Regions from separate parts of the Homo sapiens genome. Here region 2 is linked to region 1. Evidence: promoter capture Hi-C in 16 types of primary human blood cells and fetal thymus (Javierre and others, 2016). All regions are on one chromosome and are shown on one strand. The core of a region is centred on a gene start or on the middle of the fragment in contact, and the rest is flanking DNA. Distances in the headings are between cores, read along the strand shown. Region 1 holds the start of LINC02453 (long intergenic non-protein coding RNA 2453). Region 2 overlaps TMPO (thymopoietin).

Region 1 (5,912 bases), core at 1,433-3,932:
CGCGCCCAGCTAATTTTTCTATTTCCAGTAGAGACAGGGTTTCACCATGTTGGCAAGGCTGGTCTCCAACTCCTGATCTTGTGATCCACCTGCCTTGGCCTCCCAAAGTGCTGGGATTACAGGCGTGAGCCACTGCACCTAGCGTACTTAATCAGGTCTTACGATCATTCTGAGGTACTAGGAGTGAGGGCTTCAACATATGAATGTTGGGGAGATGAAATTCAGCCCATAAACTGGGTGTGGTGGCTCACGCCTGTAATCCCAGCACTTTGGGAGGCTGACGCAGGTGGATCATGAGGTCAGGAGTTCAAGACCAGCCTGGCCAACATGGTGAAACCTTGTCTCTACTAAAGATAACAAACAAACAAACAAAAAAATAGCTGGGTGTAGTGGGGTGCACTTGTAATCCCAGCTACTTGGGAGGCTGAATCGTTTGAACCTGGGAGGCGGAGGTTGCCACTGCATTCCAGCTTGGGCGACAGGGTGAGACTCCATCTCAAAAAAAAAAAAAAAAAAAAAATTCAGCCCATAACAGAAGCCATTTCTTCCCTCTGGCATCATTTGCATATACTGCATATATCGTAGCTTGGACCAATCATGTTAACTCATTTGGACAAAACCATATTTTTGTGATGTAGATGGAGAGGTTGTATCACCTTGTTATAGCCTCATACAACCCAATGTGGAGTTACTGTCCACTGTTTTAGCACCCCCATACCACTCTGTTCATGTTACTTTCATGGTTCTTACCAAGTAACATGAACTTACCCCAACACATTATGGCGTTTGGTGGCTTAACATATCTGTCTCCTGATGCTCAAAAAAACCCATTTTTACTCAGTGTATCCTCATCCTTAGTACTTAGCACAGTATCAGGCTCATCAGAGTTGACAGTCCATAAATACCCGTTGAAATGGATGATCTAATTTTAATCCAAACAGGAGAGGGAAGAACAAACCACACCATGTGCAAATATAATTTCCAGGTATACTGCTACATTAGGTTGAATCAAAAGAAATTAGTGTTTGGTATTTTCAAAATACTAAGCAGAAAACCTCAGGAATTTTACAAAACATATCATCAAAATCTAAAACTATTAATTTCTCATAGTCTTGCTATTCATTTTCTGTTCAACAAATATTTGACACTTACGTGTAGGGCACTATTTAGTACTAAGAGTCCTGGAGCTTGCAAATGTGAACGAGCAAGCTTTGCTTCCTGCTATTAAAGAGATTAATAGTCAAAAGTGGTGACTAGTCATCACTCGCATAATCGGTGAAAACATAAAAGGCGCCCAGTCCAACAGCTTTTCCCACATTCCTCCCCGCCACCCACCTCCAGAAGGAGTCTTGCTTGGTCACCCAGGCTCACTGCAACCTCCGCCTCCCGGGTTCAATCAATTCTTCTGCCTCAGCCTCCGGAGTAGCTGGGATTACAGGTGCACCCCACCATGCCCAGCTAATTTTTGTATTTTCAGTAGAAATGGGGTTTCACCATGTTGGTCAGGCTGGTCTTGAACTCCTGACCTCGTGATCCACCCACTTTGGCCTTCCAAAGTGCTAGGATTACAGGTGTAAGCCACTGAGCCTGGCAGTCACACATTCTTTCAACTGTTTGTTTCCACCTTTATTATAAAGTATTTATAAAGAGGGATCCAGAGTCCCTCACCTGGTTCAGAATCTTGGGTGACCCTTGGCAGGTCACTAACCCTGTGAGCCACAGCCACATTTGTAAAAGTGGGATAATAGTCACACATTGTGAGGTTGTTCACAGTGTTGGCACATGGTAAGGGCTAAGACACTTGATTAGCATAATATTCAAAATTAGAAATTGTACACTATTGTACTCTCTTTCAAAAGGCAAACAGCCTAAAACTGTTTGGAAAAAACAGCTTGTACAGTATATTGTACACTTCCTGTGATAGACTAGTGGACTGATACACCCACTAATGCACAGCAGTAATAGTCCACCTCTTTACACATTATGCATGTTAAGTGACAAAAAAACTCACTTTAAAAGGCCAAATGATAAAAACATCAGCCTTGAGGCTCTTCGATATAGAGTAAATCATATCTTCCTGCAAACCAAGGATTAGTATCATAATACCTGAAAGAGGAAAACTTAATTCTAACATTCAAGAAAATTGGCGGCAGGAATACACCTCGGCTTCTAGTAGTCGGTAGTTTAAAATACAGGAGGAAAAAAAAAAAGTTTGACCCCGACGTGATTCGAACACGCAGCCTTCTGATCTGGAGTCAGACGCGCTACCGTTGCGCCACGAGGTCCTGCTGGGCTGTGGCTCGCGCAGTTTCTTAGGACACCAGTAAATGGCGTTTCTTCCAGGGGTACCAGTCTTTCTCTTCCATTTACTCTCTGCCCCTCCACCCAGTATCTGTCGGACCAGGAGACCGATTCCTTCAGCGTCCAAACTTTCCTGACTGCTAGTCCTCTAACCAAGGCTGGGACGTAACCAGCGGAAGCGGGAGAACGGGGCTTCCCGTTTAGTCGGGTCTCCAGGATCAAAGGAAATTGGCCCTTCCTTTTCTTTACCAAATGATTTCCGTTCTTACCCGCCCTGCCCCCGCCCCGTTAGTCGCGAGACTCCGCCCTCTCTCCCCTCCCCCAACAGGTTCCGCGCGCTGAGTTCGCGACCTCGAGTTGTAATCTGGCGGGGCGCCACTAAGCCGGCGCAGGCCTTCGCAAGATGGCGGCTGGAGGCAAGGGCAGAGGCCTTCAGAGCGTTTTCTTTTTCCCTTTCCTCCCTTCCTGCAAACAATGTAAGGCATTTTCTCTCAGGGGAGGCTTTCACTTCATGGTGGGCATTAAGGTTAAAAGTCACCATTTTGAAGACAGGGTTGTGCACTTAAGGGAGCTGGTTTAGCATATTATGTTTAACAGCAGTGTCCTGTCATTGAATGATACAGAAAATAATAACTGTCGCCAAAAAAGTGCAGCTACACACCTCCCCGTCGGGGAATTGAACCCCGGTCTCCCGCGTGACAGGCGGGGATACTAACCACTATACTAACGAGGAGTCGTTAGGCTGTGTATTTTCTCAGACAGCCCTTCAAGGAGCAGTAAGATCCTTCCAGCGCTCCGTAACCTTCCGCCTGCCCCCGGGAAGTACGAAAGTCCGGTCTCTTGGAGCCGCTGCTTAGGCTTATTGTCCTCTCTGGGCGCTTTGTATTCTTGATGTTGGTGGGAAGAATAAAAGGTGTGGAATATGTGAAGGAAACGCGCTTCCCATGTTAGTGCTAGAGAAGTGTGTGAAAATAGTTTTTCCGAGGCTCTTGACGCGTTCTAAATGATTTAGGTTGCCGTCCTGAGTTTTTTTTTTTTAACTGACCACTGGTATGTGACTTGCGGCTGAGCCTTCCCCTTACAAATTTATACTTTCACTCTGAAGTTCAAGTTCAAGGATAGCATATGGCTGCCAGATGTCGGGGACAGTTAGGGTTGCCACGGTCTCGTGCCTCTTCAAACAATTCATAAGTCTTTTTTTTTTGAGAGGAAGTCTCGCTCTGTCCCCTAGGCTGGAGTGCAGTGTTGCGATCTGGGCTCACTACAACCTCCACCTCCAAGGCTCAAGTGATTCTCCCGCCTCAGCCTCTCGAGTGGCTGGGATTACAGGCGCGCACCACCATGCCTGGCTAATTTTTGTATTTTACTAGAGACGCGGGGTGTGTGTGTGTGTGTGGGGGGGGGGAGGGTTCACCATGTTGGCCAGACTGGTCTCGAACTCGTGACCTTTAGTGATCCACCTGCCTCGGCCTCCCAAAGTGCTGGGATTTACAGGCGTGAGCCACCGCGCCCGGCCAATTCACACACTTTTGTAACACAAAAGCGCCCAATGAAATGACCAGCTGCGGGCAAATGAAATTTTATCAAAATTTTATCAGCCGACTTCTGTTTCGCTCTCTGTAGGTGGCTACAGTTTAACTGGAAGTGACAAACGTAAGTATGTGAATGGCTAAATAATAATGCGTTTAAATAATTCAAAACCAGGATGTGCCACTGATTAAACATATGGGTTAGGAAAGTGCACTAATCGGATAATTTGATAATTTGTGTCATCCTAAACCCGTTCATAGACAGGATGAACCCTCTTCCCAGGGATACTAAGAGAGCCTTATATGTAAACTTTTTTTTTTGAGACGGAGTTTCACTCTTGTTGCCCAGGCTGGAGTGCAGTGGTGCGATCTTGGCTCACTACCACCTCCGTCCCCCGGGTTCAAGCGATTCTCCTGTCTCAGCCTCCCGAGTAGCTGGGATTACAGGTGCCCACAAACACGCCCGTTCAATTTGTGTTTCTAGTAGAGATGGTAATTCACCACGTTGGTCAGGCTGGTCTCGAACTCCTGACCTAAGGTGATCCACCCACCTCGGCCTCCCAAAGTGCTGGGATTACAGGCGTGAGCCACCGCGCCTGGCTATAAACTTTTGATTTTCTCTAAAGGAGTGTGTTTATAGGCACAGATAAACTGACATGATTGAAAGCGTTTCATTATAGAACTTAAACTTACGTGTCTCGTCTCCGACCCAACCAATCAGGACTCCCAACTCACTGACCCCTACCCAACAAATTATCCTTAAAGATAATAAAAATAACAACAACAACAACAACAACAACAAAAACCCCACATATGTGTCTTAAGGAATCCCTTGTTTCTAGTGTGCTACGAATTAATGTATTATCCATCATAAATTATAAGGTATTTTTCATCTGATGGAAGGGATAATTTTTTTAATGCAGATATTAAACAAATGGCAGTTTCTGAGGCTTGTTTTGGCTTTTCTTTCTTTTTTGCTCTCATTATTATTATTATTATTTGAGACGGAGTCTTGCTCTGTCGCCCAGGCAGGAGTGCAGTGGCACGCTCTCGGCTCACTGCAACCTCCGCCTTCTGGGTTCGGGCGATTCCTCTGCCTTAGCCTCCCGAGTAGCTGGAACTACAGGCGCACGCCACCACTCCCTTTTGTATTTTTAGTAGAGTCGGGGGTTTCACCATGTTAGTCAGGCTGGTCTCAAACTCCTGACCTCAAGTGATCCACCCGCCTCGGCCTCAAGCGGCCGCGCTCAGCCCTTTTTCACTCTCTCTCTCTTTTCTTTTTTTGAGACGCAGTTTTGCTCTTGTTGCCCAGGTTGGAGTGCAATGGCACAATCTTGGCTCACTGCAACGTCTGCCTCCCGAGTTCAAGCGATTCTCCTGCCTCAGTCTCCCAAGTAGCTGGATTACAGGCATGTGCCACCACAGCCAGCTAATTTTGTATTTCTAGTAGAGACAGTTTCACCATGTTGGTCAGGCTGATCTAGAACTCCTGACCTCAGGTGATTCACCCGCCTCGGCCTCCCAAAGTGCTGGGATTACAGGCGTGAGCCACCGCGCCCGGCCCCTGTTTCACTCTTAACTACACCGAAAGCCTCAATACAAACTCTCAGTGTGTGGGAGCCTCCTTCCACTTTGATCCTCCAAAAACTTTTGCCAGGGCCAAAGGGCACTGTGATAGCTATGATGACGTCCTTTTCCTAGTAAAATCGAAGGGACTTCCCCAAGTCTCTCAGTTCGTAGAGCTATGGGGCAGTGAACCCAGTTCTCCTGAATCAACTGTTTGCCCCGTGTTCTGCACTCTCGGGAAAAGCAGCTTCATCTCTTCCTTTAGAAGAGACATCCTTTCCACTGAAGCTCTCGTAAAGCTATGCCAGTGCTCACACACGTGTTGTTACTGCTCCTTTTTCATCCCTGGTGAAAGTAAGAGGCAGTCTGAGTCAGTGAGATCAGGGAGCAGGGAACGCAGCACTTGCTGTCCATCATCCGAAAATGGAAAGGAAAAGAGAGGGCAATTAACCTGAACAGGGTGAGGGAGCTCAGAGGTTCCTCCCTGTCAGCACTGGGCAAAAATAAAGGTTAAAA
Region 2 (5,912 bases), core at 1,527-4,026, 48 kb before region 1:
AGTTTAATCTGAAGATACCTTTATTTTGAAGGATATTTTTGCTGGGTATCTACACTGATATTTCTTTCATCACTTTAAAGATGTTTCATTACTGTCTGACTTGCACTATTACTAATGAGTAGTAGTAACTAATTGCTGATTACCCATGTCATGTGTACAGTTTTCTCCAGTTGCTAAGTTGTCTTTCATTGTTTTTCTTCCCCCACCCTTTATCATAAACTGGTACGCAATAGCTTCACTAAAGTTGCCTTGTTTTTTTTTTTTTTTTTTTTTTGAGACGGAGTCTCACTCTGTCGCCCAGGCTGGAGTGCAGTGGCGCGATCTCGGCTCACTGCAAGCTCTGCCTCCCGGGGTTCACGCCATTCTCCTGCCTCAGCCTCCAGAGTAGCTGGGACTACAGGCATGCACCACCACGTCTGGCTAATTTCTTTTTGTATTTTTAGTAGAGACGGGGTTTCACCGTGTTAGCCAGGATGGTCTCAATCTCTTGATCTCCTGAACCGCCCGCCTCGGCCTCCCAAAGTGCTGGGATTACAGGCATGAGCCACCGCGCCCGGCCACAGTTGCCTTGGTTTGACTTTGTTTTGGGGTCACTTGAACTTCCCATACTTGGGCTTATATAGTTTCTGGGAACTTAGTAAATTTTCAGCCATTTCTTAAGAAATTATTTTTCCCCCTGCACTCTCTCATCCCCTGGTATTACCATTACATCTATGAAAGACTGCTAGATATTGGCCCGGCGCGGTGGCTCACGCCTGTAATCCTAGCACTTTGGGAGGCCGAGGCGGGCGGATCACCTGAGGTCAGGAGTTCTTGAGACCAGCCTGACCAACATGGAGAAACCCCGCCTCTACTAAAAATGCAAAATTAGCCGGGCGTGGAGGCGCATGCCTGTAATCCCAGTTATTCGGGAGGCTGAGGCAGGAGAATCGCTTGAACCCAGGAGGCGGAGGTTGCGGTGAGCCGAGATCGCGCCATTGCACTCCAGCCTGGGCGACAAGAGCGAAAACTCCGTCTCAAAAAGAAAAAAAAGACTGCTAGATATTGTCTCACACACAGGTTACTGAGGCTTTGTTGAGGTGCTTTTTAGCCTTTTCCTCTCTCTGCTTCAGTTTGGATAAATTTTTTTTTTTTTTTTAAAGATAGGGTCATCTCCTGAGTAGGTGGGACTATAGGCATGAGCCACCACACCTACGTATTTCCTGAAGAAAAACAAAAGAAATAGGGTCTCATTATGTTAACCAGGCTGGTTTTGTATTCCTGGGCTTAAGTGATCCTCCTGCCTTGGCCTCCCAGGAGCTGGGAATACAGGCAAAAGCCACAACGCCTGGCCAAGACACAAACATTTCTATCACCTTGCAAGAATCTCTCATACTCAGTTAATAGCCACTCCTCCCTAAAGGTATGTAGTATTCTGACTTCTATCGCCATGGACTATTTTTGCTTTTCTACATTAGGAATTCTGAATGGAACAATGCCCTACTTTTTCCCAGGCTTGCTCCATTCAACATTGTCTGTTGGGTCCATCATGATGTGACATGTAGAGATGCTCAACTTATGATGGGGTATATGTGCCAATAAACTCATCATAAACGTAAGTTGGAAATGCATTTATAGCTCCTAAAAGCTTACATCCCCTTCCTCCAAAAGGAAGGAAAATGTATTCACTGTCACAAGACCAATGTGTCAATTTCTGGACAATAAAGTCATTAGTGGTCTATTGTCAGGACTGAATTTTCATACTTAGCTTTTATTTATTCCAAAATAAGCAAATTTTTAGTTATTTGACTATAAGGTCATTAGTTTCTCTCAATACAATGAACAATAGCAATATTTAAATTGCTAATAAACCTATATGGCTATTAGTTACTAGAATAGACAATATGTTTCAATTTTATTTTTATTATTTTTTAAGATGGGAGTTTCGCCTTTGTTGCCCAGGCTAGATTGTGCCCAGGCTGGAGTGCAATGGCAAGATCTCGGCTCACTAAAACCTCCACCTCTCGGGTCCAAGCGATTCTCCTGTCTCAGCCTCCTGGGTAGCTGGGATTACAGGCACATGCCACCATGCCCGCCTAATTTTTGTATTTTTAGTAGAGGTGGGGTTTCATCATATTGGTCAGGCTGGTCTCAAACTCCTGACCTCAGGTGCTCCGCGTCTCGGCCTCCCCAAGTGCTGGAATTACAGGCGTGAGCCAACGTGCCCAGCCCGTTATTATTTTTGGGACAGAGTTTTGCTCGTCACCCAGACTAGAGTGCAATGGCACGATCTCGGCTCACTGCAACCTCCACTTCCCAGGTTCAAGCGATTCTCCCGCCTCAGTCTCCTGAGTAGCTGGGGCTGCAGGGGTGCACCACTACCCCCAGCTAATTTTGTACTTTTAGTAGACAAGGTTTCGCCATGTTGGCCAGGCTGGTCTTGAAACTCCTGACCTCAGGTGACCCACCCATCTCGGCTTCCCAAAGTGCTGGGATTACAGGCATGAGCTACCACACCCAGCGTCAGATGCTTTTAAAAAAAACAACTTCCCCAAAGAGTGCCTCAAGTTCACAGAAAATTCTAAAACTGCACCCAAGCACCGTCAACTACACATTGTTATTCACCACAGAGAAAGTATCAAATGTCTGTTGCATTAAGTGGCAAAATTTGGTAACTAATAAATTTCAATCCATTTAAAAACACTGTAAATATAGTATAAATGTTGTCGATTCAACTAATGATTCCATAATTAGGAGAACTTAACAAAACACATGGAGACCCCTTGCACTCAAACCCTATGTCTGCTCCTCTACTTTCTCCCCAAATCTTTGGTGGAAAGGATATGTGAATCCCGAAAAGCTCTCAGTGACCATCAATTCAAGGTGACAGGCTGACCACATGCTTACAGCCTATTTCTACTGAGACTTGAATACTGATAAGGGAATAAAAAAGGGTTTAACACAATGACAAAGAGGTAGAGTGAGATAGCAAAAGATACTTCAAAAAGCTGCCTGGAAGATAAAAAAAAAACAAACAAAAACAAATTAGGCCAGGGGTGGTGGCTCACGCCTGTAATCCCAGCACTTTGGGAGGATCACTTGAGGTCAGGAGTTCAAGACCAGCCTGCCCAACATGGCGAAACCCCGTCTCTACTAAAAATACAAAAATTAGCTGGGCATGGCGGCGCACCTGTAGTACCAGCTACTCGGGAAGCTGAGACAGGAGAATCACTTGAACCCTGGAGGCAGAGGTTGCAGTGAGCCAAGATGGCGCCACTGCACTCCAGCCTGGGCGACAGAGCAAGACTCTGTCAAAAAAAAAAAAAAAAAAAAAAGATTAAGAAACAGAAAAATTAGCAAAATTAAATAAGGCTTAAATTTATTATTACTGTTGTTGTTTTGAAATGGAGTCTCACTCTGTCACCCAGGCTGGAGTGTTACCTCTGCCTCCCAGGTTCGGGTCATTCTTCTGCCTCAGCCTACCGAGTAGCTGGGATTGCAGGCACCCACCACCACACCTGGCTAATTTTTGTATTTTTAGTAGAGACTAAAAATTGTCTTGCCATGTTGGCCAGGCTGCTCTTGAACTCCTGACCTCAGGTGATCTGCCTGCCTCGGCCTCCCAAAGTTCTAGAATTGTAGGTGTGAGCCACCATACCTGGCCAGAAGATTTAAATAGCCACAGAGAAAGATTAAGTGAGACCTTGTCTCAAAGAAAACAAAAACAAAAACAAGAAAAACTAGGAGTGAGCTACTTTACCCAAAAGAACGCTTCAGAGGTTTGAAACTCAGAAGGCACCACCAAAGTTGTGAAAGGAGCAGGGCTGAACACAGAACTGGTTTAAAGCATGTAAACAGAGAATTGTTTGTTTTAGGTTCCCTCTGCCATATTATATGCAACCAGAGCCATCACTTCTCAGCTGTGTGCAAACATGAAGAAGCTTCCTAACACCTCTAACCATCAGTTTCCTCATTTGTAATGATATTACGAAAATGCCTACTCCATAGGATTATCGTGAGGATTGAGTGAATCAATACATATTAAGCACATAGAAAAGTACCTAGCACATGGTAAGCATGCAATAAAACTTGTTGTTTTAAGCCTTTGATGCGATTTGCCTTATAATTAATTATGGTGTCTATACTACCTTGAGAAACACTAATTTAAGTCAAATCACCTCTGGGGACACATGAATGAGGAAGACATAATGGCACTTTCATCTTGTGAGCACAGCTCCATGACGTATCACAGTGACACGGGCTTAGTCTCAAAGCAAGACTAACAATCATAAGGGTCATAGGTAAATACTAAAGACAGTAAAAGTGGTGGGAAAAAGGAACTAGGTGTGGGAGAGGTGCCTTGGAGCGCTTAATGTCATTCTGTGAGTACAGTAGCTACACATTGCTTACCTTTGAATAAACGAGAACCCGATTACAATAAGAAGTAAAACATATGAACAGACTGAAATAAAACACAATAATCCATAAATATCACATAAGAAATGTTATCCAGAAATCACAGTTTGTGCTATCTGAAAACCATTTATTGCAACGACAAAACTAGAGGTTAATTACTTTTTATTATTGAATTATATTGTAAAGTCTACATCTACAATTTAATCAGGAAGAAATGCTTTGCATTTACATCAAGGACACATTTATTCTAATGGAATAAAACAGACACACACAAAAGACCAAGTACATGTTTTTAAAAAATGACTACATGTTTCACCTGGTCCTATTTTTGCTATTTGGACCATACTTTTAAGTGAATTGATCTTACATACATGTTAAGTCTGATTTATCTCCCCACATTTTTAAACACTAAATGAAGCTTCTCACAATTTCTAATTATAAACAAAAGGCTGAAAACAGTATGGGAAACAAAGTTTCAAAACAAAGAAAAGTTGAGTAAAAGGTGCCCCCTCTATGGCTCATCTGAAAGAAACATTTTACTCAGAGAGGCAAACATTTCTGATCTAGGAGTAAGTTTCCCACTCACTTTGCAAGGACCCACTCATTCTGCAGAAAGACCTACAAGTCTTTCTGGTCTCAATTGCAAAGTACGTGAAAATGTGTATGAAAGATCTAAAAGCTAAATATTAGAATAAGGCTAATTGAAATCAAAATTGTGTGCTGGTCTAAATATACATCTTCGGCTTCTTCCTTTTTAGTAAGTATTTTTATTTCAGATGTATTTAAAAATAACTTACATTTTTAGTGTGCTTTATGGTCAATGACTGTAAAGTTGAAACTCAAATGAGTCAGTTTAAAATTTTTGTCTCATTTGATTCTATTGAAATTTTAATCACCTACTACTTTAATCAAGTTATTCATGAGGTAAGTTTCAGCTTAAAAAAAAAAATCATCCACAAAGATAACCATTTCAAGAGTACACAAAATCATAATGCCGGCCGGGTGCAGTGGATCACACCTGTAATCCCAGCACTTTGGGAAGCTGAGGTGGGCTGATCACTTGAGGTCAGGGGTTCGAGACCAGCCTGGCCAACATGGTGAAACCCCGTCTCTGCCGAGGCAGGAAAATTGCTTGAACCTGGGAGGCAGAGGTTGCATCGAGCCCAGATCGTGCCACTGCACTACAGTCTGGGTGACAAGAGTGAGACTCCATCTCATAAAAAATAAAAAAATAAAAAATAATCATAATGCCCACCTCTTAAGAGTATACAACTTTATTAACTACTGCTTATGATGTAATATAAAAGCAAGTACTTTTTGTACTTTTTTATTTTTTTTGAGATGGAGTCTTGCTCTGTCGCCAGGCTACAGTGCAGTGACGTAATCTCTGCTCACTGCAACCTCTGCCTCCTGGGTTCAAACGATTCTCCTGCCTCAGTCTCCCTAGTAGACAGGACTACAGGCGCACATCATCACGCCCAGCTAATTTTTTTGTATTTTTAGTAGAGACGGGGTTT

Evidence for each region. The method cuts DNA at HindIII sites, captures the fragments that hold promoters and counts their contacts. A CHiCAGO score of 5 or more calls a contact.
Region 2: a fragment that was not itself captured here is called in contact with the fragment with the promoter of LINC02453 in region 1 in 10 of 17 cell types (non-activated CD4 T cells, fetal thymus, naive CD8 T cells and 7 more); the score reaches 9.5 in non-activated CD4 T cells.

Annotation. Positions count from the first base shown.
Region 1 is chr12:98,500,625-98,506,536 of GRCh38, reverse strand. It overlaps LINC02453 (long intergenic non-protein coding RNA 2453), which reads left to right and starts at 2,682. Exons shown (of 4, transcript NR_038383.1): 1 at 2,682-2,777; 2 at 3,925-3,954. It overlaps TRD-GTC1-1 (tRNA-Asp (anticodon GTC) 1-1), which reads right to left and starts at 3,034; the gene lies at 2,963-3,034. TRW-CCA4-1 (tRNA-Trp (anticodon CCA) 4-1) reads right to left here and starts at 2,285; the gene lies at 2,214-2,285. RefSeq lists enhancers at 2,325-2,624, 2,635-2,944. The HindIII fragment of the contact is 12,452 bases long and covers 1,212-5,912 here.
Region 2 is chr12:98,548,941-98,554,852 of GRCh38, reverse strand. It overlaps TMPO (thymopoietin), which reads right to left. Exons shown (of 9, transcript NM_001032283.3): 9 at 4,502-5,912. Among named protein-coding and RNA genes, the nearest start is that of TMPO-AS1, 36 kb to the right of the region's middle. The HindIII fragment of the contact is 2,293 bases long and covers 1,630-3,922 here.